Regions from separate parts of the Homo sapiens genome. Here regions 1, 2, 3, 4, 5 and 7 are each linked to region 6. The links are contacts of gene promoters, found by promoter capture Hi-C in blood cells and fetal thymus (Javierre and others, 2016). All regions are on one chromosome and are shown on one strand. Each heading gives the region's core, a stretch centred on a gene start or on the middle of the fragment in contact. The rest is flanking DNA. Distances are from core to core; before and after follow the strand shown. Region 1 overlaps SLC4A5 (solute carrier family 4 member 5). Region 2 overlaps SLC4A5 (solute carrier family 4 member 5). Region 3 overlaps MTHFD2 (methylenetetrahydrofolate dehydrogenase (NADP+ dependent) 2, methenyltetrahydrofolate cyclohydrolase). Region 4 overlaps SLC4A5 (solute carrier family 4 member 5). Region 5 overlaps SLC4A5 (solute carrier family 4 member 5). Region 6 holds the start of STAMBP (STAM binding protein). Region 7 overlaps SLC4A5 (solute carrier family 4 member 5).

What was found. The method cuts DNA at HindIII sites, captures the fragments that hold promoters and counts their contacts. A CHiCAGO score of 5 or more calls a contact.
Region 1: a contact is called between a fragment that was not itself captured here and the fragment with the promoter of STAMBP in region 6, in 7 of 17 cell types (naive B cells, activated CD4 T cells, non-activated CD4 T cells and 4 more). The highest score is 7.4, in naive B cells.
Region 2: a fragment that was not itself captured here is called in contact with the fragment with the promoter of STAMBP in region 6 in 5 of 17 cell types (activated CD4 T cells, non-activated CD4 T cells, erythroblasts and 2 more); the score reaches 9.2 in activated CD4 T cells.
Region 3: a contact is called between a fragment that was not itself captured here and the fragment with the promoter of STAMBP in region 6, in 17 of 17 cell types (erythroblasts, non-activated CD4 T cells, activated CD4 T cells and 14 more). The highest score is 11.1, in erythroblasts.
Region 4: a contact is called between a fragment that was not itself captured here and the fragment with the promoter of STAMBP in region 6, in 16 of 17 cell types (total B cells, activated CD4 T cells, erythroblasts and 13 more). The highest score is 13.1, in total B cells.
Region 5: a fragment that was not itself captured here is called in contact with the fragment with the promoter of STAMBP in region 6 in 14 of 17 cell types (activated CD4 T cells, naive B cells, total B cells and 11 more); the score reaches 9.1 in activated CD4 T cells.
Region 7: a fragment that was not itself captured here is called in contact with the fragment with the promoter of STAMBP in region 6 in 3 of 17 cell types (non-activated CD4 T cells, activated CD4 T cells and fetal thymus); the score reaches 9.5 in non-activated CD4 T cells.

The regions. Positions count from the first base shown.
Region 1 is chr2:74,299,091-74,302,826 of GRCh38, forward strand. The region is part of intron 7 of SLC4A5 (solute carrier family 4 member 5); the gene reads right to left. Among named protein-coding and RNA genes, the nearest start is that of SLC4A5, 42 kb to the right of the region's middle. The HindIII fragment of the contact is 6,556 bases long and covers 1-3,736 here.
Region 2 is chr2:74,229,755-74,233,473 of GRCh38, forward strand. It overlaps SLC4A5 (solute carrier family 4 member 5), which reads right to left. Exons shown (of 31, transcript NM_133478.3): 23 at 3,648-3,719; 24 at 2,715-2,893; 25 at 1,482-1,554. Among named protein-coding and RNA genes, the nearest start is that of MTHFD2, 33 kb to the left of the region's middle. The HindIII fragment of the contact is 1,477 bases long and covers 1,640-3,116 here.
Region 3 is chr2:74,210,802-74,214,682 of GRCh38, forward strand. It overlaps MTHFD2 (methylenetetrahydrofolate dehydrogenase (NADP+ dependent) 2, methenyltetrahydrofolate cyclohydrolase), which reads left to right. Exons shown (of 8, transcript NM_006636.4): 6 at 398-490; 7 at 940-1,065; 8 at 3,278-3,881. The coding sequence ends at 3,441. Among named protein-coding and RNA genes, the nearest start is that of MTHFD2, 14 kb to the left of the region's middle. The HindIII fragment of the contact is 2,871 bases long and covers 699-3,569 here.
Region 4 is chr2:74,249,646-74,253,850 of GRCh38, forward strand. It overlaps SLC4A5 (solute carrier family 4 member 5), which reads right to left. Exons shown (of 31, transcript NM_133478.3): 15 at 3,329-3,483; 16 at 2,534-2,743; 17 at 698-872. Among named protein-coding and RNA genes, the nearest start is that of MTHFD2, 53 kb to the left of the region's middle. RefSeq lists enhancers at 657-826, 877-936. The HindIII fragment of the contact is 4,323 bases long and covers 631-4,205 here.
Region 5 is chr2:74,318,852-74,322,894 of GRCh38, forward strand. All of the region lies in intron 5 of SLC4A5 (solute carrier family 4 member 5), which reads right to left. It also overlaps the pseudogene RNU6-542P. Among named protein-coding and RNA genes, the nearest start is that of SLC4A5, 23 kb to the right of the region's middle. The HindIII fragment of the contact is 1,554 bases long and covers 1,544-3,097 here.
Region 6 is chr2:73,826,788-73,830,502 of GRCh38, forward strand. STAMBP (STAM binding protein) reads left to right here and starts at 2,174. Exons shown (of 10, transcript NM_213622.4): 1 at 2,174-2,723. LOC105374807 (a long non-coding RNA gene) reads right to left here and starts at 3,611. Exons shown (of 3, transcript XR_940246.3): 1 at 3,529-3,611; 2 at 1,970-2,117. RefSeq lists a silencer at 1,945-2,163 and an enhancer at 3,671-3,715. The HindIII fragment of the contact is 5,447 bases long and covers 1,313-3,715 here.
Region 7 is chr2:74,270,540-74,274,738 of GRCh38, forward strand. The region is part of intron 8 of SLC4A5 (solute carrier family 4 member 5); the gene reads right to left. Among named protein-coding and RNA genes, the nearest start is that of SLC4A5, 71 kb to the right of the region's middle. The HindIII fragment of the contact is 790 bases long and covers 1,233-2,022 here.

The sequences.
Region 1 (3,736 bases), core at 74-2,573, 470 kb after region 6:
CTGTAATCCCAGCACTTTGGGAGGCCGAGGAAGGCAGATCACCTGAGGCTGGGAGTTCAAGACCAGCCTGACCAACATGGAGAAACCCCATCTCTACTAAAAACACAAAAATTAGCTGGGTGTGGTGGTGCATGCATGTAATCCCAGATACTCGGGAGGCTGAGACAGGAGAATTGCTTGAACCCGGGAGGCAGAGGTTGCGGTGAGCTGAGATTGCGCCATTGCACTCCATCCTGGGCAATAAGAGCGAAACTCCATCTCAATAAATAAATAAATTTCATGAGACCTGATGGTTTTATAAAGAGCAGTTCCCCTGCACATTCTCTCTTGCGTGCTGCCATGTAAAACATGCCTTTGCTCCTCCTTCACCTTCTGCCGTGATTGTGAGCCCTCCCCAACCATGTGGAACTGTGAGTCCATCAAGCCTCTTTTTCTTTATAAATTACCCAGTCTCAGTTATGTCTTTGTTAGCAGCGTGAGAATGGACTAATACAACAAAGAAATAGCCAATAGGTATATGAAAAAGTGCTCACCATCACTAATCATCAGGGAAATGCAAATTAAAACCAAAACCATAGTGAGATGTCACCCCATACCTGTTAGAATGGCTACAAAAAGCAAAAGATAACTAGTATGGGCAAGAAAGTGGAGAAAAGGGAACACTTGTGCACTGTTGGTGGGAATGTAAATTGGTACAGCCATTATGGAAAATAATATGGAAGTTCCTCAAAACATAAAAGTAGAACTAGTATATGATCCAACAACCCCATCTCTGGGTATACACCCAAAGGAAGCCAAATCAGTATCTTGAAAAGATACCCACGTGCCCATGTTCACTGCAGCATTATTCACAATAGCCAAAACAGAAACAACCTGCATGTCCACTGACAGATGAAGGGATAAAGAAAATGTGGCATATACAAATATATACAATGGAATATTATTCAGCCATAAAAAAGAAGGAAATTCTGCCATTTGTTTCAACATGGAAGAACCGGGAGGGCATGACGCTAAGTGAAATAAGCCAGAACTATTGCATGTTCTCATTTATATGTGGAATCTGAAAAAGTTGAACTCATAGAAACAGAGGGCAGAACAGTGTTTACCAGGGGTCGGATGTGGAAGATGGGGAGATGTTGGTCAAAGATAAAAATATTCCAGGGATCTAATGTACTGCATGGTGACTATAGTTAATAATACTGTATTGCATACTTGAAATTTGCTTAGAGAGATCTTAAGTGTTCTTACCATACACTCGCACAAAGGTAACTATGAGTGGTGATGAAGGTGTTAACCAATTTGATTGTGGTAATCATCTCACAATGTGTATGTATATCAAATCATGTTTTATACCTTAAACATGTATAATTTTGTCAATTATACTTCAATAAAGCTAGAAAAGAGAAATGTATGAATTTCCTTTTCCTTAATTCTCCCAGCTGCCTTTTCTAGCTAATTTTTACCTATCATTTAAGACTCATGACAGGTGTCACCTGCTCCAGGAAGCCTGTGCTGCCCCCTCTGCCACCACTCACCACCTAGGCCTATGTGCTCCTGTTTCTCCTCCTATAGTTTCCTGTGCAGACCTCCATCAACGCACCTCCCACCAATTTATGCTTATCTGTTTGTGGGTCTGTCATCTCCAGGTGCAAGATATTTTCTCCAAGGAGCTCTGACATGATCCAGAGAGCAACTTTGCAGCAAGGGGCTGCTTTCCATGTAGCGCATGGAGCCAGTACAAGAAGGACAAGGATGCCTGGGCTGGCCTCTTTCCTGCCCCTGACCTGCTGTGGGAATGAGGACCAGCAGTTACTTGGGCCTCAACTAGAGTTAAAGCAGGGACTTCACAGGGTTCTGTAAGCTAAATGTGGTTCAAGGAAGCATCAAATTTCTTTAGGATAGTGTATTTTTTAACCAGGTACACTGGAACTTAATAGAAAAGTACAGACACCCAAGCCCCATTCACATCTAACACGTCAGGCAGCTGGATTGTGTATTTCAAAACTGTCCTGGAGGTTAGGAACCTTGCAGCATATATTAAAGCCACCCTCGTGGGTCTCTGTGGAAGGAATAAAAGTCAGCTACCTGGCCTTTGTTTCAACTTTATAGTTATGATTATTAATATTATACATTTAGTTAAAAATGATATTGAACTATCATTCTCAGGGGGCTTTCACAGGTACCAAGCCCCTTCACATATACTGTCTTATTGGATCTTTGCCATTATTCTGTAAGGCAGGAACTGAAGGGGTCTCTGCTCAATCCTCCATCTGCATAGTGTGCCTGACCCTCAGGCCCAGACACATCTAGCCACCCTGCCTGGCCCAGGCCCCTCATACTCTGCAGGATGCCCCTGTTCTCTGAAGTGGGAGTTCCTGCTGGGCTATGCAGCCAGACCAGCTGGGCCCCCTGCCTAGGTGTCTGGATGGATTTACAGAACAGACAGGACACTCAGAGAGGAAAAACATATGTGGTCAGGTGTCCTACAGCAAAGAGAAGTGGGAGATTCAGACAATTATCCAGATGAGGCAGGTAAAATGATTCTGGCGCTGTTTTATTTTGACTTCTGCAGGGCATTGGCACTATCCCTGAGATGTGGCAAGAGCAAGGTTTATATCTGTATCACACATACAATGCCCATTTTGCTTAGAAGTGAAAGACTGAGGGTTGAGACTTCCACTCCGTGAAGAACAGCAGAAACCAACTCAATGCCCATGGGCTGCAGAAAAATCACTGTGGTTGGTGACTTTGTTACCAGGCTTTGTGGCTTCCTTAAACCGGAGTGTCTGGAACTGGGGTCTGGAATGTATTCTCAGGGGTAGAAAGGTTTTACTTGAACTTTTAAATTTTGCTTCCATTTTGATAATCTTAAAAATATTCCTTTTATTAGATGGAACAGCAAAATTTGGGTTATAATTCATAATTGGAAGATATTTTTATGGAATAAAACCCTAATTAGTTAGATTATTTCTCAAATTGGAATATGTGGCTTCCTGGGGCCCTACAAATATACAAATGCATTTTCATGGGTACACAAGACTTTATTTTCCCTTTAAAAGGGGTTTTTACTTTACTCCAGCTTATGAGACATGGCCTACAATTCCCTGTCCTCCTAGGCTCTCCCATTCTCCCTTTCCTACTCCACAGCCCTGTCGGGAACAAGCCAGTAACACACACACATAGTATAGGAAGAGCAGACGGTGAAGGAAATGCACCAATATATTTGGTACAAATATGCCAAAAGGGCTGGACGTGGTGGCTCATGCCTGTAATCCCAGCACTTTGGGAGGCTGAAGCAGGTAGATCACTTGATGTCAGGAGTTCGAGACCAGCCTGCCCAACATGGTGAAACCCTGTTTCTACTAAAAATACAAAAATTAGCTGGGCGTGGTGGTACGTGCCTGTAATCCCAGCTACTCGCGAGGCTGAGGCACGAGAATCACTTGAACCTGGGAGGCAGAGGTTGTAGTGAGCCGAGATCGCGCCACTTAACTCTAGCCTGGGCAACAGAATGAGACTGCGTCTCAAAAATATATATATGCCAAAGCGTTCTACATTCTTTTTCCTTTGGTTTGCATTTAAAATCAGTGTCCACTTAACTGAACAAGACACCACCAAAGCAATGTCAAATCCACCATCTATAACTACTTCTGTGATGTTCTATGTCACCTCTTCTAAACTCTTTGAGCAGAGGGCACCAAATCTAAACTGCTTTCTTCTTCTCTGGCTCAGGAAG
Region 2 (3,719 bases), core at 1,128-3,627, 400 kb after region 6:
CTCCTACTTACTGCTCGGGTATGCCCAGCACCAATTCTCAAGCCAGAAATATTTTCCATTGTAAATACATCAGCCAGAATCATCATTCTTTAGCGTTTGTTTCTTACAAGGTCACCTCTGAATGAGGTTTTTTTTTTTTTTTTTTGAGAAGAGGTCTCACTCTGTTGCCCAGGCTGGAGTGCAGTGGCATGATCATGGCTCACTGCAGCCTCGACCTCCTGGACTCAAGTGATCATGCCTCACATGTACCATCGTGCCTGGCTAATTTTTGTATTTTTTGTAGAGATGGGGGTCTTGCTATGTTGCCCAGGCTGGTCTCAAGTGATCCTCCCACCTCGGCCTCCCAAAGTCCTGGGATTACAGGCATGAGCCACCATGCCTGGTCATGAGCTGTTTTGAGATATTCAAAGAGGAAAAATAATATCGGCAAAAGGTTGAGGCAATTACAGGTAAACTTAATTCAAGAAAGGAAAGTCTTACGTGGGCACTGATCAAGGGAAAGGGAGAGTGATGGGCGATTGGCTGGAGTGGAGAGCAGGGAAGCCTGGTGGGAACACCTTGCTTTCTGGAGTCTCTCCAGAAAGAGACCCTTGTGGGGGACGCCTGCCTCCATTGTACCCCTACTTGACTTAGTCTCTTAGCTGTTGTGGTGGGACATAAGCAAGAGGAGCTTCAAGCTGTGTGGGAAAAAGTCACTCGAGTCCCCAGACTTCCTGAGCTCAGGTGATCCTCCCGCCTCAGCCTCCTGAGTAGCCGGACTACAGGGATGTACCACCATGTTTGGCCTCCTGCTGCAAGTTTTAAACTTCATGAGCCCCAAACCCTGGCAATGTGGAAACACACCCCATTCAGGAAGTTCCTGATCTAAGCAGGGCTACAACTTGGCAGAACTTTCAGAGGGAAGAGTATCCTCCAGAAAGGTGAGAGTGGCCCTGGGATGGGTGGGAGAGAGGATTGGTGATGATAAAAAACTGCAGTATCACAGAAAACGGCGGTGACAGTGTGGAAACATTGCTTTGGCCTAGTAAGACTGTGCCTTTCTTTTTCTTTTCTTTCTTTTTTTTGTTTTGAGACGGAGTTTCGCTCTTGCTGCCCAGGCTGGAGTGCAGTGGTGCGATCTTGGCTCACTGCAACCTCCACCTCCCGGGTTCAAGCCATTCTCCTGTCTCAGCCTCCCGAGTAGCTGTGATTACAGGCACGTGCCACCATGCCTGGTTAAGTTTTGTATTTTTAGTAGAGACAGGGTTTCACCATGTTGGTCAGGCTGGTCTTGAACTCCTGACCTCAGGTGATCCGCCTGCCTCGGCCTCCCAAAGTGCTGGGATTATAGGTGTGAGCCACCATGCCCGGCCAAGACTGTGCCTTTCTTAGGGGGCTGATAGGCCAGTGATCCCTAGCCATGTGGGGACCCCCTCCCTGCCTAAGGCATCCGCTCTGCTTTCTCAGGCAACGAGGCCCTAGGTGACAGTGCAGGACCTCACCTTTAGGATGGGAGCCAGGAAGACAGAGATTCCCGTCAGGATGAAGACGATGATGCCGGTTACTCTCTGTTCCCTGGCAGAGAAGAACACATGGTCAGGGTGTACCAGGAAATGCCTGGCAACTACTCTGGCCCTCCTGCCCCTCTGTGGGCACCTGAAGCTTGTGTCCAAGGCCATGGCCTTGAGGGCTTCTGCATGAAGCTCTGCCTGGTTGCCTGAGGCCCAGCTGAACCATATGTGGGAAGACAGGCGGCCCCTGACTGGGGCAAGGGCATCTTGCAGGAGCATTGAGGGAGGCCGCTTAGTGTAGTGGCTTGTAGCTGGGGGGCTTGAGCAGGACTGATGTGGACTGGATCCTGGCTCTGCCACTTGCTAGTTATGTGGCATTGGGCAGGAGCCTGCCCATCTTGAGCCTCAGTATATGCAGATAATAATGGCACCTATTGTGAGGATACATGCGAGATAAAATGCTATTACTCTGCCCTTTGATTTTAAGATTTCGTTTTTGTGGGGCACAATGAATGAGGATCTGGGGAAGAGGACACCAGCAGAGCAGGTGTCAGGGGTGGGAGGCAGGTGAGCCCTGCAGTCGGGCAGAGAAGCCTCATTCGGGCAGGCTGGGCGGTCCAAGTATCTCAAGATAGTGGGAGAAGTTCTTAGGGCAGCCACGTAGGAGAAAGCCAGGGTTTGGTGTGGTCTCGCCCTGGAGGCCCTAAGGGGCTGAAGATGTACTTCTCTGCCTACCATGGGGCGTGAGAGAAGAGGCAAGTGAAGGAACAGGAGTAACAGGCAGGGCCACAGACTGGGGAGCGGGGGTGATCCCAGGACAGCCTTCTGGAGGAATAGAGACTGAGCAGGACCTGAACCCGCAGGAGGGCCATCAGGGCAGTAGGGGCCTGGAGGGTCTTGAGGAAGAGGAAAAGGGCAGGACAGCACGAAGCCTTGTGGGGACCTTGGGTGGCTGATGAAGATGAGTGTCTGGCACGTGTGCATATTTATGGATGGGGTATGCATACTGCTTGGAGCCCAGTAGGTAAAAAGCCCCACTTAGAGCTGGACTTCTGTCTCTCTCCTTCCCTCCCTCCAGGGATAGCACTCCTGTCCCTGTGGTTCTTGGGCCGTCAGAGCGGGGGCCCTTTTTGTCCAAATCCTTTTGTGGCAGGCAAAGCCAGCTTCTCCTCCCCGAGTGGGCCCCTCCCCATTGGGTGATCCCTAGGCCCTGACCCCTCCTACCTGACTCCCAGAAACTGGGGCTGCTCCCCAGGGGCACTGGTCTCTGTCTCCATCTTGAGGCTGTCGATGTGGGCGATGGAGATGACCGTGGCAGCCACGTACCAGGGGAGCCCCATAAAGGAGCACAAAGCCATGAGGATGCCCACCCAGAACAGGTCCAGATGGTAGCCGGCAGCCTTCTGCAGGAGCGGGGTTGGGGGAGGGAGAAGTTTCTGGGGAGCCAGTTCCTCCTGGATGCAACCATTCTGTGGAACATGGTTCAAGGACCCCCTGCCTTCCAGAAGATACTGAAGGGGCCTGAGGTGCTCCTTGCAAGGATTGCAGAGGTGGGTGTGTCCTGCCACCCCATCTGAAAGGGTGAACTGCCTAAGGGGTATGGGTCATAGAAGAGAGGGATGTTCAAGCTTGGAGAGGCCCTGGGTTTGGGTCTCTGGGGAGAAGGGCCCAGAAGGTGGCCACAGGGTCTTTGCGGTTCCTGAGGGGCCCCAGCTGGGACAGGCCACACCTAAAGTGGTCCAGACCTGGATGGGGGAGGGGGTGACCCGAGTCTTCTCAGGCTCACAGGCTGGGTGGGGAGTTGCAGAGACCAGGAAGGCTAAGGAAGTTCCTCTGCCTCAGTGTTCTAGGCTGAGCCCCTGTCAGGATCTGCTGATTCTCATAAGAACTCGAGGTCACTTTGGGAAAGACAGAGAGCCTGTGCCCAGTGGCCCAGCCTAGTTTGGTCCTGGTCCTCAGAAAGTCACTCCAGCCCTGGTGGCCTTACCCACATCTGGAGGTCACATTTCCCCCTCAACACACCAAGTGGGAACTCTAGTCTCTGTCCTCATATTTTCCTGGCCCAAAGTACTGAAAGAAGCATCATGTCCTTCCTTCGCTCTTTCTGACTTTGTGGGAAGAAAGAGGTTATGCCTCTGCTCCTAGTACCGGCCTTACCTTCAGTTTGTTCTCCTTCCGGTTGACAATGACGGCAGTGATCTGCTGGTCCATGAAGATCAGGATGGTCAC
Region 3 (3,881 bases), core at 884-3,383, 380 kb after region 6:
TCCTGGAGATGGAGTCTTGCCCTGTTGCCCAGGCTAGTGCAGTGGCACAATCTTGGCTCACTGCAACCTCCACCTTCCAGGTTCAAGTGATTCTCATGCCTCAGCCTCCCAAGTAGCTGGGATTACAGGCATGCGCCACCACGCCCAGCTAATTTTTGTATTTTTAGTAGAGACGGGGTTTCACCATGTTGGCCAGGTTGGCCTCGAACTCCTGACCTGGTGATCTGCCCACCTCGGCCTCCCAAAGTGCTGGGATTACAGGCGTGAGCCACTGCACCTGGCCGTAAGTCAATTATTTTTCAGAGATGTTGAGTTTCTACAATGACTTGACTAGTTGAGACCTAATCCAATCCCAGCTTTGTGTCAGAAATCAAGACATCTATTTTTTTCTTTCTAGGTGATGCCACTGTTACAATATCTCATCGATATACTCCCAAAGAGCAGTTGAAGAAACATACAATTCTTGCAGATATTGTAATATCTGCTGCAGGTAAGAACACAAGGGGGATGGAGGGAAGGACTTCACCTCAGAAGAGGAGGTTGTACCCCTCATCTTAGAATTCGCCTGCCTAGCTGCTATTCATCATTCCCCTTGTAATGATTCTTTGAGCTGCCTACAAAGATGAGGATAGAGTTGTGATTGGAATACCGGTTTCTGGCAGTCCATTATAGTCTAGATGGGTGAATGTTATTCCTAAAGCTTCAAAATATTTATATTAATATTTACTGTATAAAGTTTAAATGGTTCCTTTTGTTTCCTGTCAGGAGCCAAAATAAAAAAATAATAAAAGTAAATAGTTCCTTAGTTAATATTTTTAACAGGTTTTAATAAAACATGTTGATTAGTTCTTCAGGGTCTCTTGAAATTGAAGTTAGACAAGAATCTGACAGGTAGACTGTTTTCAGTACTAAGTTGATCTTTCCTTTCTCCATTTCCAGGTATTCCAAATCTGATCACAGCAGATATGATCAAGGAAGGAGCAGCAGTCATTGATGTGGGAATAAATAGAGTTCACGATCCTGTAACTGCCAAACCCAAGTTGGTTGGAGATGTGGATTTTGAAGGTAAATGGTGAAATTTTATTTTTAAAAATGAAATCAATAAATACTACCTTTCATGGACATTTAGGATAGATTATTTACTTTTTTTTTTTTTTTTTTTTTTGAGATGGGAGTCTCACTCTGTTGCCCAGGCTGGAGTGCAGTGGCGCGATCTCGGCTCACTGCAACCTCTGCCTCCTGGGTTCAAGCTATTCTTCTGCCTCAGCCTCCCGAGTAGCTGGGACTCCCAAAGTGTTGGGATTATAGGTGTGAGCCACTGCGCCCAGTCAGTATGCTTTTCCCTCCCTCTCTCCTTCCCTTCCTTCTTTCTTTCCTTCCTTCCCTCCATCTCTCTCCCTTCCTTCCTTCCCCTCCCCTCCCCTCCTCTCCCCCCACCCCTTTCTTCCTTCGTTTCTTTCTCTTTTTTTTTTTTTTTTTTTTTTGAGACAGTCTCACTCTGTCACCCAGGCTGGAGTGCAGTGGCACCATCTCGGCTCACTGCAGCCTCCACCTCACAGCTTCAAGCGATTCTTGTGCTTCAAGCCTCCCCAGTAGCCAGGACTACAGGCATGGGCCACCACGCCCAACTAATTTTGTGTATTTTTAGTAGAGACGGGGTTTCACCATGTTGGCCAGGCTGGTCTGGAACTCCTGGCCTCAAGTGATCCACCCGTCTTGGCCTCCCAAAGTGCCGGGATTACAGGTATGAGCCACTGCACCTGGCCTTAGTAGGCTTTTCATAAGAATTAGAGAAACCTTTTTAAAATTATGGCTTTTCTAGAATTATTTTAGGTGTTTTATCATAGTGATGGAGAGCAGTTATAAACTTTTCAGGGAATTGTTTTTTTCCTTAGACTTATTTCATAATTCAAGCAATTTCTTGACTTTTAACAAGTTTGAAAATTTGATGAAGTGATTTTTCTAAACCATGGAGTTTCCCAAAAAGTGTTAGAGATTTCTCATTTTCACACTGAGAGATCACAGGCCTAGAAAGTTAAAATGGTCCAGGAAAAAACCATACCCCTGAAATACTAGAATATACTAGTAGATTTCTTCTTTCAGTTCTGTTTTTTTTTTTAAGAGGCAGAGTCTCACTCTGTTGCCCAGGCTGTAGTGCAGTGGTGTGATCTCTGCTCACTGCAACCTCCACCTCCCAGGTTCAAGTGATTCTTCTGCCTTAGCCACCCAAGTAGCTGGGATTACAGACATGAGCCACCATGCCGGCTAATTTTTTGTATTTTCAGTAGAGATGAATTTGGCTGTGTTGGCCAGGTTGGTCTTGAACTCCTGGCCTCAAGTGATCCGCCTGCCTCAGCCTTTAACAGTGCTAGGATTACAGGTGTGAGCCACTGCACCTGGCCTCTCCTTTCAGTTCTTAAGATAGAATGTTTATCCGAGTTTTATGCTGATAATCCTTTTTTTCTTTCCTTTTTTTTTTTTTTTTTTTTTTTTGAGACAGGATCCCTCTCTGTTGCCCAGGCTGGAGTACAGTGGCAGGATCTCAGCTTACTGCAACCTCTGCCTCCTGGGCTTGAGCAATTCTCCTGCCTCAGCTTCCTGAGTAGCTGGGACTATAGGCACATGTCACCTCACTTGGCTAATTTTTGTATTTTTTGTAGAGATGGGGTTTCACCATGTTGCCCAGGCTGGTTTCAAACTCCTGGCCTCAAACAATCTCCCCCACCTCACACCCTGCCTCAGCCCCCCAGAGTGCTGGGATTACTGGCATGAACCACTGTACCCGGCCTATGCTGATAATCCTATTCCTAGCTTTCTGTTTTTATTAAAGCAGTCAAACCCATGCCTAGGTATGTAAGGATTTTCACTTTAACATTAGGTTAATTTTTTTTTTAACTTCTCACTTTTAAAAAATTACTGTGCTTTCTGCTTTGGACAAATTATACTTAAAATTAAATTAAGAAAATGCTATAGGCAGGTATTGAGGTAATGCTTATTATTGTTATACTTACAACTCCCACACAGTTAACCTACTAGATATTTCTTTAATAGATTTCTTTATAGGTTACTTAGATGTATAAATATTCCTTGAACAACTCTGTATGTGCATGTTATTTTACTAGTGTGTTCACAAAACCTTGAATGATGTAGATGTGATTTTTGAGTTTTATGCTTATGTATGTTACTTTTTCCTTGCATGCTTGTTTAATAATATATTAAAGTACACACATGTCCTTTGCCATAACTAAAGCAGCCTGCCTGTCTTGTTTCTATGTAGGAGTCAGACAAAAAGCTGGGTATATCACTCCAGTTCCTGGAGGTGTTGGCCCCATGACAGTGGCAATGCTAATGAAGAATACCATTATTGCTGCAAAAAAGGTGCTGAGGCTTGAAGAGCGAGAAGTGCTGAAGTCTAAAGAGCTTGGGGTAGCCACTAATTAACTACTGTGTCTTCTGTGTCACAAACAGCACTCCAGGCCAGCTCAAGAAGCAAAGCAGGCCAATAGAAATGCAATATTTTTAATTTATTCTACTGAAATGGTTTAAAATGATGCCTTGTATTTATTGAAAGCTTAAATGGGTGGGTGTTTCTGCACATACCTCTGCAGTACCTCACCAGGGAGCATTCCAGTATCATGCAGGGTCCTGTGATCTAGCCAGGAGCAGCCATTAACCTAGTGATTAATATGGGAGACATTACCATATGGAGGATGGATGCTTCACTTTGTCAAGCACCTCAGTTACACATTCGCCTTTTCTAGGATTGCATTTCCCAAGTGCTATTGCAATAACAGTTGATACTCATTTTAGGTACCAAACCTTTTGAGTTCAACTGATCAAACCAAAGGAAAAGTGTTGCTAGAGAAAATTAGGGAAAAGGT
Region 4 (4,205 bases), core at 1,542-4,041, 420 kb after region 6:
GTGCTGGGGAAGGGCAGGGAGCAGCACGTCAGGAGGGAAGATAAGGGACGCAATGTCAGCTGTGTGAACTGGGGGATCCTGAGGGGCAGCCATGGGGAATCCTGAGGGGCAGCCATGTGGACATGCCCAAAAGGCAGCTTGACAAATGGGTCTTCTCCTTGGGGTACTGAGCTTTCCAATGGCTCTACTTTGAAGGCCTCCATTGGAGAAGACCCTTGCCTAGGAGATTGGCAGGTGTCTGCTGAGCTGTTTTCCCCAGGGAGGCCTGAGTTGTTGTCATGGCAACAGCTTACCATCCTTCTAAAAATGTCTTAACTCCAAACTAAGAATTCAAGGTTAGTTTTTAAAAAGTGTGGGGAGAAGGCCACAATTAGCACTCCATTAATTGTGCTGATTAAATTCACTCCAGCATCAGTGGGAAAAGTACCAAATAACACAGCAGATGATTCCCCTTAACGGTTTGACCTATTTAAATAATCATTAAGTTTGGTCTTTAGTAATGAGATTTAGCTTCAGATCTTTTAATATTGTCTTATTATATTATTATTACTTGAAGCGTAAAGGATTACAAATAGTGATGGCCTCAACCTGGATGGTAGATGAAACCTTGGTTTTGGGATTACAGGATGAAGCTTCCTGCTGCCACCAGGTGGCGGCAGATCTTACTTTTACACTCAGGGCACCGGCTCGCACACACCTGATAATTGTCGGTGGCATCCCCCAGAAGCCCACCAAAGGTGATCGCGTTGGTGATACAGCCGAGGTAGATGAATAGGATGGCAGAGATGGACTGAATGTGGAAGCCATCATAGAAGTCACTTGGGAACCAGGGCAACTTCCTCTTGATATCCAGACACAGGCCACCGAAGAACCTGCTCAAGACAGGCCCAGGGGCTGCTTTCTCACCACTAACACCAGTGCAGGGGCAGGGCTATTTACAAGAACTTGCAGAGTCTGGGGCGAGGAAAGGAACTTGACCAGGGTGGATGGGGCAAAGATCTTTCCACCAGAACATTTAGGGCCAGGGATGAATTCCTGTAGGACTGAGTTTGTGGTTGGCACCACCCACATTGGGAAGGGTGGACATAGAGGGTTTTGGAGAGGGAAAGTCTGATGGGAATATGTCCTGGGGTAGACCTAACATTCCATGGAGAATGGAAGTCCTGGGGTCCACAGATGGTGGTCCTCCTCACATCCCTGACCATCTGCAGGGTGCCTGCTCTTGGTGAACACAGGAGTGTCTAACTTTCGGTGACAGAAGCATCCCAGATTATAACAGATTCATTAAGAACAGATCCTAAACCTTATAACTGGTTGGTATTTGTTTGTTTTTTGATTTTGCTATCTGGAACAGCTGAGTGGAAGATTTTAGGTTTGGAGACACTGTTTACTGGGATTGCTATTCCCATAGCCCCTAATGCAGTCCTTAGCATGGAGCAGAGTTTCTCAACCTCAGTTCTGCTGATATTTTGGACTGGATACTCCTTTGCTGCAGGGGCTGTCCCATGCACTGCAGGATGTTTAGCAGCTACCTACTAGATGCGAGTAGCATCTCCCCTCTCCGGTTGTGACAAGCAAAAATGTCTCTGGACATTGCCAAATTCCCTGGGCTCGGGGGTAGGGGGACTAAGGAGGGCCAAAGCTGCTTACAGTGAGAACCACTGGTATAAAGCCAAGGGCATATAAAACATGACTTCATTCTCAAAGTCATGATTTATATGTAGATTTTCAAGGCCACATCCTTTCCTAAATCTAGATCAACCTGAATGACTCCAAGAGCTGGAAAAGAAACCCAGGCCAGGAGAACTTTCTCTTATTTTCTTTAAAAAAAAAAAAAGTTTTTGAATAGGTAAATTAAGTTTTAAAAAAGGTACTGTTATTGAGTTGTGTCCCCCCAAAAGATATATTAAGGTCCTAACATCTATGTAACACCTATGCAAATGTAATCCAGTTTAGATTAAGTCATTATGGTGGGCCCTATTCCAACATGACTGGGGTCCATACACAAAGAGGAAAGTGCTCTGTGAAGACAGACACACAGGAGGCCATGTGGTGGAGAGGCAGAGCCGGGGGTGATGCGGCTGCCAGCCAGGAACACCAAGGACTGCTGGCCACCACCAGAAGCCAGGAGGAGGCCAGGAAGGATTCCACCTGGAGCCTCAGGGAGCACGGTGGTCCTGCCAACACCTGCTGTGGAACTCCTGGCCTCCAGAACTGCAGGAGAGTAACCTTCTGTGGTTTTAAGCCACCTAGTTTGTGGTACTTTGTTACAGCAGACCCAGGAAACAGGCACCAAAGGATATCTAAGAGAAAAGTTTGGGTTCCTCTCCTCTTGTATGGGTCTCAAATTCCCCTCTCCTGAGGCAACCTTTTGGGGATCCATGATGGGGTTCAAGGGCTCTGGGAGGGAAAGAAGGCAGGGGTGACCTCGAGTGGGCACTACAGACCATGGTTGGGAAAAGTCCCTAGAGGGCAGCTGAGAAGGGAGAAGTCTAAAGGACAGCAGGGTCACTGGGAGGCCTGGGGTGGGCACCTTCCTGTCCAGATAAGTTCCTCCCCGATTTCATGCATGGCTGGCATCTCTCCATCATCCCCGCTGCTTGTTCCGCCGGCCCCGCCACTGCCAGCCCCGCCGCCACTGCCACCACCACCACCACCTCCATTGCCTCCTCCAGGAGCTCCGCCGCCTCCTCCCACAGAGCCATTCATCTGGCCCAGCTCTGCTAGGGAGAACACAGATTTCCTGGAAGAGAAGGGGGATGAAGGAGAGTGGGTCCCCCAGAGCACCCCTCACCTCTCCAACCAAAATTATGAAATATCTTAAAAGACAGACAAAAATGCAGAAAATTGTCTAACAATATCCACACGCAGGTCACCTAGATTTTACAAATGTTCACATTTAGCCATATTTGTTTCTGATATATCTTATTATTTTTAAACTTATTTTAAACATTATTTTGAGACAGGGTCAAACTCTGTTGCCCAGGCTGGAGTACAGTGGCATGATCACAGCTCACTGCAGCCTTGACCTCCTGGGCTCAATCAATCCTCCTGCCTCAGCCTCCAGAGTAGCAGGGACTATAGGTGCATGCCACCATGCCCAGTTAATTTGATTTTTGTTTTGTAGAGACAAGATCTCACTATGTTGCCCAGGCTGGTTTCAAACTCCTGGGCTCAAGTGATCCACCTGCCTCAGCATCCCAAAGTGTTGAGATTACAGGCATGAGCCACTATGCTGAGCCTCAGATGTATTTTAAAGAGAAATAAAATGATACCGACAGAGTTGAAGCCTCCTTTTTCTCTCCCTACTGCCCATTCTCATACACACCTCTTGTCAGCAGAGGGCACCTTCTTGGGGGGCTCAATCCGGATATTTGGGTCCCATTCTCCAGGAGGAAGGACGATGACCTCATCCAGAAATTCATCAATTCCTGCGATCAGATCTTCCCGATTGCGGGCTTTGTAGGCCACGTCACTGAAGAGCTGGCGAGGAGAGAGGAGGGAGAAAAGAAAGATCGGGTCTGTTTCTGAAATGCCTGGGAGCATATCACATCTAGTTTTTAAAGGAATCCCTTTGAACCACATCTCCCACTGCCAACTCACTCTCAGTTTTTGGAATGAGACTATAGTACATTGGTAAAATATGGCACAATGGGACACAGCAGGCACTGGGGGAAGACAGCCTCTCTTGGATCTGAAGGCCAGGTCTCCATATTCTTGCTTGTAGGACTTCGGTTAAGTTACTTAACCTTTCTGTTTTCAGTTTTCCACACATCATACATATTAGAAAACCTTTGTAGAGCCCAGTCCAAGGAGCTCAGATATTTCATAACCATTTTTTACTTCCAGCCCTTCGCCCTTGGAGGCTCAGGCCGTGTTCTTCACACTGTCTCCAGAGTGTGCTTTCTGACTTACAGATTCGATGGGACTATGCTCACATTTAACCCTTTCCCATTTAGGCAAAAAAAAAAAGTGCAGCTCACTGCCAGCACTCATTTAATTTTACATAAACACACTCTTTGAGGCCGAAGCAAATCTGACTGATTTTCAATGTGAAAATGCAATATAAAAATTATTCTTAGAATTATTTCTAAAAAGAACTAACATTGGAATCATTGGAATGATCAGAATCATCTATTTTGGAAACACTGGATTCATCAAATGAATCTTAGGCCAAAAACTGTTCGAGAATGATGTTAGCATCA
Region 5 (4,043 bases), core at 1,071-3,570, 490 kb after region 6:
GTATATGCCCAAAGGAAAAGAATCATTATATTAAAAAAGATACCAGCACTTGTATGTTTATTGCAGCACTATTCACAATAGCAAAGATATGGAATCAACCTAAGTGTAATCAATGGAGGATTGGATAAGGAAATGTAATATATACATTACATTATATATATATAATGGAATGCTAATCAGTCATAGAAAATGAAATCATGTCTTTTGCATCAACATGGATGAAACTGGAGGCCATTACCCTCAGTGAAATAACTCAGAAACAGAAAGACAAATTCTGTATGTTCTCACTTATAAGTGGGAGCTAACAATTCGTACACATGGACATGTAGAGTGAAATAACAGACACTGGAGACTCCAAAAGGTAGGAGGGTAGGAAGGGGGTGAGGGTTGAAAAGTGACCTATTGCTACACTGTTCACTATTCGGGTGATGAGTACACTAAACTCAAACTTCACCACAATGAAATATATGCATGTAAGAAACCTGAATTTGTACTCCCTAAATATATATTTTAAAACATTTAGGTTCTTTAAAAAACTATGTAGCTGGTGCTCGCTTTAGTAGCACATATACTAAAACTGGAATAATAAAAGATAAGCATGACCCCTGTACAAAGATTACAAAACAAAGACAAAAACAAAGATAGTTAATATCTTCAAGGAGATTGTCATAGGTTTGTTTAATATAGTTGCTTTCTTGGCATCCAGTTTTTGGCCTGACATAAGTTGTTTGAAACCCAATTAGTTGTACTCCTTTGGCCTAGTTAAAACTTCCCCTCCCTATATGATTGTTTGCAATATAGTGCATTCTCTCTCTTTTTCTCTCTCTCTCTCTCCCCATTCACTGATTGAACATCCTACTGCGTCTTGACTTCCCATCAGCCACCCCTAACCTCTTTGAGATCTGTAAATAATAAATTTCTTCTGTTTTATGCATTTTGGTTTCATTTGGTCTCACCTGACCATCTAAACCTTACTCTCCTCCTGGTTAGAGCTCTCCTAGAAAGTGGCTATCTTGGTTTCTGGCTACTCTCCAGAGACAGCTCTCAAGACCAAATTAGAGGAAATCACAACAGAGACAAGAAAAGACATTGTATTCATGACGACAAGAAAAGCAGAATGCTATAAACCTATGAACCTATAAGTTTTTAAAGAATAAGACAGAACTTTTCGAAATTAAAAATACCTTAGAAGAAAATTTTCAATAAAAGACTTGGAACATAAATTTGAAGGAGTATATCAGATAATAGAACACAAATAAAAAGAGATTAAACAAATACTATGACAAAACAAGAAAACCAGAGGATCAATCCAGGAGGCCCAAACATCAAAATAATAGGAGTTCCCAAAAGAGAGATAAAAAAATAGTGGAGAGAAAATTACCAATGAAATAACATGAGAATACCTTCCAGAACTGAAAGATCTGGAAGAATTTTCTGATTGAAAGAACTTTCGATCAGCTCAGAAAAAATTAATTTTTAAAAAATCCACTCCAAGTCACATCATTATGAAGCATTAGGACTTCATGGATAAAGAAATCTTAAAAGCTTCCAGAAAAAAATAAGTCATCTACCAAGAATCTGAAACAAGAATTGATATCAGATTTCTCAATCACTACAGTGGAAGCTACAAGACAATGAAGTCATGCTTCCAAAAGTGAGACAAAATTATTTCCAACCTAGAATTCCAGTCCCAATCAAGCTATCAATCAAGTGGGAGGGTAGAATAGGGGCATTTTCAGACATAAACTATCTCAAAAATTTACCTTCGATGCACCTTTTTTTCAGGAAGTGACTGAAGGAGGAACTCTAGCAAGATGAAGGACTTGCACTAAGAAAGAAATTAAGTCTGGGAAACGGGATTCACCACAAAAGATAGGCAAAGGAAAGTCACCGGAGAAGAACCCTGCAGCAGTCCAGAGAGCAACAGGCACATCTTAGAGCAGGCTCTGGACAGGATGTCTTCAGGAAAAAAACCTGGATCTGAAAAATGGTCTTGATGTGTTTGACTGTTGCAAGAGGATACAAAAACTTTGTCAAGAATAGTCATAGAAAGGAAAAGTAATCATGGTACACTATACTCAACTGTGAGCAATATTTACACAGTCATAATAAATCAAGTGAGTGTTAATTTTCCTGAAAACAGCAATAGAAACAGGGTTGATATTCCACCGATACGCATTGGTATGGCTGCTATTTATGATTGGTGTCCATTTTTAGTGATCAGGTATTCATTTGGGTTGGTCAATGTCAGTGCCATGTTGGTTGTTAAATATTTTGAATATCACCACTGGATGTAACTATTTGGGGAGTATAAAACACCTGTGGAGGATGCTGCTAGTTACTTCCCTGATGCCCATTCCCCTTTCTGCTCTGACTTTCTGACTTCTGCTCCAGCCACAGTAGCACTATGGCCAACTAAAAAGAAACACTTCCCTCAGACACCCTTCAGCTCTCTCTGGCTGAAGAGCTACAGGAGAAAGAACCTGAGGAAGGAGTCCCTTCCTAGATAAAGCATTTTCAGAAGAAAGCCTCTTCACTTTTCCTTCTTCTTCCTTCCTGGATAGAGTTGCCAGGTTTAGCAAATGAAACTACAGTTTGCCCAGTTAAATTTGAATTTCAGATAACAACAAATAACTTTGAGTATATGTTCAGCACAATATTTGGGATATACTTCTACTAAAAATTATGTGTTGACAAAGGTGACCCAGATGTGGTTACTGAAAACCACACCTGGGTCATCTGACAAAGGACTCTGGGAAAGTAAGTTTTTACTGGGAAAATAATATTGAGTCTGTCAGTAAGGGAAAAAGGGAGAATGCGCATTGGGTAGTCATCTAGCATGTCTCCTACACTGTCCAACAACCATTCCCTCTTCTGCTTGCCTATTTACAAAACTTTATTTTGTTCAGGTAGAGACACAGGGCCCTTGATTGCCAGTAGTCACCTTCCCTAGGCTCAGGCATGAGCTGGGATCTATATAAACCATTCACGGTATTCTGGTTGCCCTTAGCCAGTCACTGAGTTTAGGAATAGTCATGTGACCCTATTCTAGCCAATGAGATTTAGGTGGAAGTCCATTGGGTAAGACTTTCAGGAAAGCTTTTATTTTCCTAATTGAAAGTGACACAGTTGGAATGCACAGTTTGTCCTTTACCCTCCTGCTTTCTTGCACGGACCTTGAGACTTTGAGATAAAGCAGCCATCTTGCAACAATGAGGTGACAGGTATGAAGACCAAAGGCACAGGCTAAGAACAAGGCAGAAGGATAAGACAAATCTGGGTTCCTGAGAATATCACTGAGCTCTGGACTGCTTATTGCTGGATTTCCTGTTATCTGAAAAAAAAAAAAAATCTCTATATTTAAACTGCTAGCCAAGTTTTATGTTACTTTTAGCTGAGGCCTTCCTAACTGACACATAATGGATGACTATGGACAGTTGAAATTAATGAACTAGATTTTTATGTATTAACATGTATAAATCTCAAAAACATAATGAGAACAAAAGGAAGTTGTAAAAGAAAATGATATTATTTACATAAAACTTTAAAACAAACAAAACACTACCAATATTGATTATAGTTACATTTATAAGTAATAAAATCATAAAATTATGTAGAGGAATGATACACACCAACTTCAGGTTACTTCTGGGGAAGGATAAGGTTAATGATGCTTGATGATCTTTGGTATTTTGGATAGATGATAGATATACATGTAGATATGAAACGAATATGATAAAATGTTAACATCTGTTAATTCTGGACAGTAATATATCAATATTTGTCATATTGTACACATTTGAGGTATTTTATTATTAAATTTTTAAAAGTATTTTTAAAAATAACTAAGAGGTCTCCCCAACACTATGAGATAATAGTCTCAGGCAAAATGGGTCAACTGAGCACTCTGCACAGAAAATATCTGGGAAAAAAACTCCTCACACTTTGCTAGATCATTATGAAATTTTAGAACAGTGACTATGAAGAAAAGAAAGATCCCAAAAACTTCTAGAGTAAAACAATCAGAAACAGGTCACCTGTCA
Region 6 (3,715 bases), core at 924-3,423:
GCCAGGTGAACTGCTGAAGCCTATTTGCTGAAGGAATACCTTCCACGCTTAGCCTCCAATCTTTAGGGCAGGGGTAGGTAGGATATTCTCATCAGTTATGCCAAGAATCTTTTATAGCTTTGATTTCCTGATTGTGTATACAAAATTGTTTAGTTTTTAAACTTTTCCAGTTAAACAAGAAATGAGGAATGTAAAATTTTTACCTTGGCCAAGATTTTCTTATTTCAGGTCCCTAGAAAGCTGAGTATTGAACTTTGCCCCAGATATCAAAAACTCTGGTCAACATTTACAAATTCTCTCCCTAAAAAGACTAGATCCTGCTTCCTATATTCACTTAGCTATTACCTTAAGAACTGCTAGCAACTGGGCATATTAACTTTCTAATATCAGGAACAGCCTCTATGTGGCGCTAGCTATGTTTACGACTATGCACACCCCTTATATGTGTGTCTCAGTTATAGCTTCTTAAAGTCTTCTCATCATAATCTTAAAATCTAGGATGTTTGTAAATTTTCTTTACTTGTTAAGCTAAACATTATAAAAAAAAGAACTACTTTAGAGATTGTGCTGAATGGGAGCAGATGCCCCTCCCTACCCCACCAGCTGTACTTCTACCTGTGCTTCCACCATTAGAGTATCCACCTGCTGGGTTTGTTTGCTGATGTATCCCTAACACCTAGAACAGAACCTGGCACATAGTAGACACTCAGTAAACATTTACTGAGTGAGAGGTTGAATGGATCAGATTTTGACCTGTGTTGCCTCCTGCCAGGACCCCATCTGCACTATAATGCCCACCCAATGACCAGCATCTCCAGTGCATCAATTTCTTTAGGCCCAACCCATCATGTTTACATTCTGAAGAGAGTCAGTAGAGAGAGTTTTGAAGACACAGTAGAGTGCCCTATACAATTATCTTCCCAGATTTATCTGCAGTAGATCCATGAGAGTTGATAGTAGACCCATGCACATTAATGCTTGCTGGGGGCAGAAGGGGAGGTGATATGATGCAAGCAAGTACTTTCAACCCTAAGTCTGAAAAGTTGATGACTACACAAAATCACTTCAGGTAACTCCAACAGAAATATACACAACGGAGGTTGGGAGAAATGAGAGATCTGGAGGCTGGCTAGGTGGAGGAGGCAACACCTGAATTAGGGATTTAAGCTAGACCTTGAAGAATAGGTCATGCCATCACACTAACAAACTCACAGGGAGGCTCCCAAATTTTGGGAAAGTGTCCCCCAGAGACTTAGACTTTTAAACCAAAGCCTAATGTTTCACAAAGTCTTCTGAGACAGAATGATTAGCAAGCTTGTAGGACCTTTTTGTAAAGAGGATGTATATGGATTCGTACAGACACACATCTACATGCAGAACGTGCCATTCTGTATTTGATGCATAAAACCACCTTGTCCCGGTCTCAGGGCAGGAACAGTGTCATACAGATTTTTGTGTCTCCACTGCTTTTGCATAGCGGCTCTTAGAGATTAAACGCTTTTTTTCCAAATATTTTATAGGTTTTTTGACATTAAAACGTTAGTCTCATCTGGGTGCGGTGGCACACGCCAGTAATCCCAGTACTTTGGGAGGCAGAGGCAAGAAGATCGCTTGAGCCCTGAAGTTGGAGACCACAGTGAGCTATGATCACACCACTGCACTCCTGTGACAGCCTGGGTGACACCGCAAGACCCTGTCTTAAAAAAAAAAAAAGTTAGACTTATGTTCTTTTCTAAGCAATAAAATTAGTCTTAGATATTGCCTAATATCTAAGACTACCAATTTTTGTGTAGAATGTAATACAAGCTAAAAAATACATTCGAAAGACTTTCTGTCCCCCAATTTATAAATCCTGGTTAGTTTAGCTAAGTCTGCAGTTGTGCTGGGATCAGCAATCCCTCCTTAAATGCAGGAGTATTGTGAGTGTGATGAGGGACTACCCCAAATCAAAATAATTTTAAAAGCAAACCTTAGCTTGCTAATTGGTTCCACTTTCTTCCTTGTTCCTTTTCCTTTACCAAGATGGCCGCTGTGTCGTTCGCTCCTCATTGGTCGGATTTTCCGCAGGTGCCGATTCTAGCCCCACCTACTAGCTCTCCGTTCCAAGTCCTAAATCACTGGGAATGTAATAGACAGACGAACGGGAGTGGGCGGAGCGGGCGCCGGATGTGACGTTTCCGGAACCTCCGGGTGTCATCCGCGGGGAAAGGTGGGGAAGGGTCCCGGGAACGTGGTGGGGCAGGGCCTCCGAGCGTGGTTGGACTTTGAAGGGGATCGGCCGCCGTGAGTGTGGGGCCTGCAGCCTACTCTCCCCGAGTCCCCTGCCCGGCCTGCCTCGCTCGAGGCACCCGACGGCTTCTGTCTCCGCGGGCTGGCGCCTGACCAGCCAGGCCCAGCGGTTCCCCGCCTACTGCATTTGAAAGATCCCGAAAACCCTGGATGATTGTGCCTGGGGTTGGCAAGTTCGTCTTGAGTGCCTTCAAGAAGGGTTCCTCAAGCAGTTGTCGATAGAGCCCTCCCTACTGTATACGCCCCCTCCGCTCATTCCTGCTACTTCCTTTCTCCTCCTCGTATTTCCCCCTCGGTCCTTTACGCCGCCTTTCCCCCTCATTTGCAGATGCTGCATCCCCTTTTTGGAATTGCTCAACCAGGTGGTAACCGGCGCCGCTTCCTGGCCTTGGGAGGTGGTTCCTTTCTTAACCCACAAGAACCTCTCCCAAGAGGTACTGAGATGCAACAAGCATCCTCTGTTTCAGTTAACTTTCATGGGCCGTGGACTAGGTTTACTAATTACTTGGGGAGGTTTTAGATATGCTTGCGGCTTTCTGAGTCCCTAAGGAGGCCTCGTGAGAGATGGACTATCTCTGCATCCCTAGTAGTCCTCACGGCTTTTGTGCTATTAGTGAGGGTGTTTTAGAGGGGAAGGTTTGTGGAGGAATTGTGACCCGAATATTGAAGAGACCTAAAGATGGAATTGGCTGAGAGAAGACTACCCCTGAGGGAAGAGTTGTAGTAGAAAAGAAAAACTGGATAGATAAATGAAACTGAAATGTGAGGATGCCTGGGCGGATTGGAATCCTGACTGAAGCAAAAGATCTCTGTTGGGGAGGGCCAGTTGCCACAGGGCCTTGAATTCCAAGATTTATTCTACTGTAGTTTGTGTATTCTAGAGCATACTGATTAGGGTTTGCTGTAATGCAATGTGTGTCAAATGCCCAGTTTTATTTTGGAGATGATAGTGGTGATATCTGGTTGGAATTTGGAATCTGATTCTAACAGCAACTATATCTAGAAAGACTAGAATTACTGGAGTTTTGGGACACCAGGGGTTTTTGCAATGCAAGTTACCATCGTGCCTTTTTGTTATTCAGTGTTTAGTCTATGAAGATGAGTAAATGGTTGTTTTCAAGATTTAAGTCTCTTGCCATGATAATGATGAATGAATGATTTTATAGATTGACTATAGTGGTTTAGTGAGCAGAGTTACAATTATGAGCATTAATTCCCAGACCAGTTCCCCTAACTCACCTTGTGCTCAAATATGAAAAAGGATACCACAGAAAATGTCAGTTACTCTCAGATTAAGTAAAAATGGTCAACCTTGAAGTTAGTTAACAATCCTCAAGAAAGTTCACTGAGTGCACTCTGCCAGGTACTGGGGTGGAGGTATGTGGGTATCTGGAAGGAGAAATAATAGAAAATAAAAGATGCTGTT
Region 7 (4,199 bases), core at 378-2,877, 440 kb after region 6:
GCAGGCGCTTGTAGTCCCAGCTACTCAGGAGGCTGAGGCAGGAGAATGGCGTGAACCCGGGAGGCGGAGCTTGCAGTGAGCAGAGATCATGCCACTGCACTCCAACCTGGATGACAGAGCGAGACTCCGTCTCAAAACAAAACAAAACAAAACAAAAACCAATGCCTGGATGGTTACCCCACCAGGAGGGTGACCCTGCCATGGAAACTCCCGGGTTATCTGACTGCACCCTGTGGGTTCAGGAGCCCCTGCTCTGTAGGTACATAGAATGGTGTGACTTAGGGATAGTTCAACTTATATGGGGTCCCAACGCAGGCAAACGTAGCTCACATGGATCTGATTCTCATTATACAGCAGGACATGGCCTCTTTCCCTTAGAATGGCTCCAAGAACACTAGCTGAAAGGGTCTCCTTTCTAGCACAGTCATGCTATGCTTTAGTTTCTCTGATTTTATAACTGAAGTCCATTTACAGTACATATTCTACTACACCAGTGTGCCTCAAACTCTAATGTGCATGGGGATCTTGTCAAAATGCAGATCCTCATTGAGCAGGTCTGGAATGAGGTCAAAGATTCTACATTTCTAATAAGCTCCTAGGTGTGCTCATGCTGCTGGTCTGCAGATCACCTCTGAGATCATGTAGAATGTCCTCTTTCCTCTCTGTTTTCCACTGCCCAGCGAGAATGCCCCTTCCTCCACAAAGCCTCTGCCAGTTATTCTGCTTATTTCTCCTATAACACCCTAGGATGGTTCTCAACCTGAAGCACTTTAGAAACCACTGTTCTAGGACAGTGATTCTTAAGCTTGCTTGCATATAAGAATACCCTAGATGCCTTTAAAATCTTCATGTCTCAGTCATATCCTAGACCAGTTGACATCAGAATAAAAACGGGTGGGATCCAGGCAACTCTGTGCTCCAGACTATCCTAGGTAAAGTTTCTAACTTCTTAGGCTCAGAGCCTAAAATAATTAATTAATTCAGGCTCAGTGCCTAAATTAATAATTAATTGTAGCCAATCATGTTTTATGATTGTTTTGGTATATAACAAATGCCAAATATACATTAAGCTTTTTGAAGACAGGTGCCATTTCTTCCTCTCTGGTGTCCCCTTATGGTCTCCTGCCCAGATCAATTGCATTAAATGCTTGCTCCCTTCTGCTTGAGGGTAGCAAGACCTCACTGATCACTTTGGGTGAGATCTCGCTATGAGGAAATGACTGGGGAAAAAAAGCTTAAAACTCATTTTGTTTAAGTATATTTAAAAATACTCAGAAGCCGGGCATGGTGGCTCACACTTGTAATCCCAGCGCTCTGGGAGGCTGAGGTGGGAGGATTGCTTGAGACCTGCCTGAGAAACAAAGCAAGACTCCACTATACAAAAAATAAAATAATTAGCCAGGTGTGGTGGCATATGCCTGTAGTCCCAGCTACTCAGGAGGCTGAGGTAGGAGGATTAAGTCCAGGAGTTTGAGGCTGCAGTGAGCTGTGATCGCACCACTGCAATGAAGCTGAAGTGACAGAGAAAGACCCTATCTCTAAAAAGAAAGAAAGAGGCCTTATCTTTTAGAGACATAATGAAATATTTACAGATGGAATGATGTGGTGTCTGGGATTTGTGTCAACCTGACCTAGCATGTGTGTCTGTGTGTCTGGGGTAGTAGGTGGGGGACAGAGAAACAAGAATTGCTATGAGTTAGCTGTTAACTGTTGAAGCTGGGTGATGGGCAGGTGGGGGTTCATTCTGCTATATACTACTTTTGTATAAATTTGAATTTTCCATAATAAAATCCTTAAACATTCTCCAGAATGAATAAAGGAATGGCCTCTGTAAAAAGCCTCTGGTCAAAGCCAAGTTTAAAAACTTGCAAAAGCCTGATAATAAGGTTCATGTGTAATCCCAAACAACTCATTGCAAAGTGAACTGTGTACCATGGTTGGCTTCAAAAAGTGGGGTATTAGAGTTGGGGAAGCAGGTCAAGTGGAAAGAAAATCTCCACGTTCTCCTTCATTATCCAGCAAAGCTTTAACTTTTAGGGATTTTGCCCAAGCTTGGGTGTAGACCCCCAACTCTGCATGCCAGGGTGGGCACCAGGTGCCCCGCTCCTGACTGGAATGTAGCTAAAAGGAACCTTGAAATGTCACTTGTCACAGAAAGCAGCTCTCTGTCACACAAAGCAGGGCCAGAACTGAGGCCTTTTCTGTGCCTAGTAACTCGGTCAGAGATATAATTAGAGGACATTGCTGTTCAATTAATAACAAGAGCAGGAGAAAGCATCATGGCGCTAGCTACCAGGTACAGTCAAGGCTTCCAATGCTCAAACCACAGGATGGGAGAAGAGGAGGTTCTCCTTCAAGGAGGATCTGGAAAGGGCTGAAAACCAAGAGACCTCTATTCTAGTTGTCTCCTCAGATGGAAACTTCGTAACTCCCACTGATCCTGCTGGGCTAGAGTAAGTATCAGCAGTTTTCAATGGCTGCATTAGGATCATCTGGGAGCTTTTTACAAATTCTAAAACCCAGGCTGAATCTCAGACTAATTACATCAGAATCTCAGGGGACTGACAATCAGACATCAATATTTTTTAAAAGGAAGACACAGATCCTTGAGATGATAAAACAACAGGCTGCCCATTATGTGTAGTTAGATAAGAGTAAAATCTGGAGAATATACATAAACATTGTGATTGAAGAGAAGCTTCTATCTATACTATTTTGAATATCATTATAATTAAATAGTGTCTTGGTTAGTTTGTTTGCAAAATCCCCCCTAGGACATTCTAATTTAAAAAATGTAATCTCCCAATGTATGTAACCTTTAATGCTAAGGCTATGTTGCCTCCAAACATTTGTTTTAAGAATTACATTTGTGTGAATTTGTTTCTTTCATGAAGTTTACTCAGCTAAAATTTGTAAAGTATATATCCCTGTGGTCACTCTATCTATGTGGCCTCACCAACTTTATTCTGTAACTCTCCCACCCCGCCCCATTACCCAAAAGCTTGACTTCTGTGTATTAGTTACAAAGCATCAAGACATGTTTGTGCTTTCTGCCTAAGGCCTGTAATACATTTTGTAACTCCAACAAATTCATTTCTTAAAAGTAAGAAATGTAAGTTTTCCTTCAATATCCAGCAAAGTTTTTTAACTTCATATGAGTCATATCAGGATACTGAATTTCCCAACAGATACTGAAGACCAGTATTAATTCACTTAGAAGCCCGTTAAGAATTTTCCTAGAGATGTCTGAGGAATCATCAGATACTCCCCTGGTTCAGTCTTTGACAGAGGCACTAAAAAATGATCTGTGGAAGGAAGATTTTTCAAAAGGGGAACACCTGAGGCCGGGCCTGGTGGCTCACGCCTATAATCCCAGCACTTTGGGAGGCCAAGGCAGGCAGATCCCTTGAGGTCAGGAGTTTTGAGACCAGCCTGGCCAACATGGCAAAACCCTGTCTGTACTAAAAATACAAAGATTAGCCAGGCGTGGTTGTGCATGCCTGTAATCCCAGCTACTCCCAGCCAAGCACTATGCTAAGCACTTAACATGTATTATCTCATCTAATCCTTAAATCTATCTCACGAGGTAGGTCTGTGACTATTCTCATTGTACAGGTGAGGAGACTGAGACCCTTAGAGGATGAGGAGCCTGCCCAAGGTGGCTGAGGCAGGAGAATCACTTGAGCCCAGCAGGCGGAAGTTACAGTGAGCTGAGATGGTGCCACTGCACTCTAGCCTGGGCAACAGAGCAAGACTCTGTCTCAAAAAAACGGGAGAAACACCTAAGCAAATTCTGGCCCATTCTTACAATTTATTTGGCTAATTCATGCTACATAAAATCACATGCATGAAAATATGTATGTGAGATAGTACAACAAGTTGTTTCTACAACGGATTATGACTTTGCATACCATGTATATGTTAATAAACCAAACTTGGCAGTAAATTTGAAAGATTATAAAGTATAAAAGACTGAGGGGGCAGGCATGGGTCAAGGGTCAGCACACATATGGAGAAGTTCAGAAGCTACCAGAAGGGGCTGATGAGCACCAGAAAGGCCTCACAGGCCTCTTGGGGCACCCACCCCGGTCCAGGCTCAGAAATTTTATCTTTTTAGTGTCCCAAAGATGATTAGGTCCAGTGACACTGTCTAATGCTAACCAAGATCACAAAGGCTGATGCATAAACCTGAAGGCCAA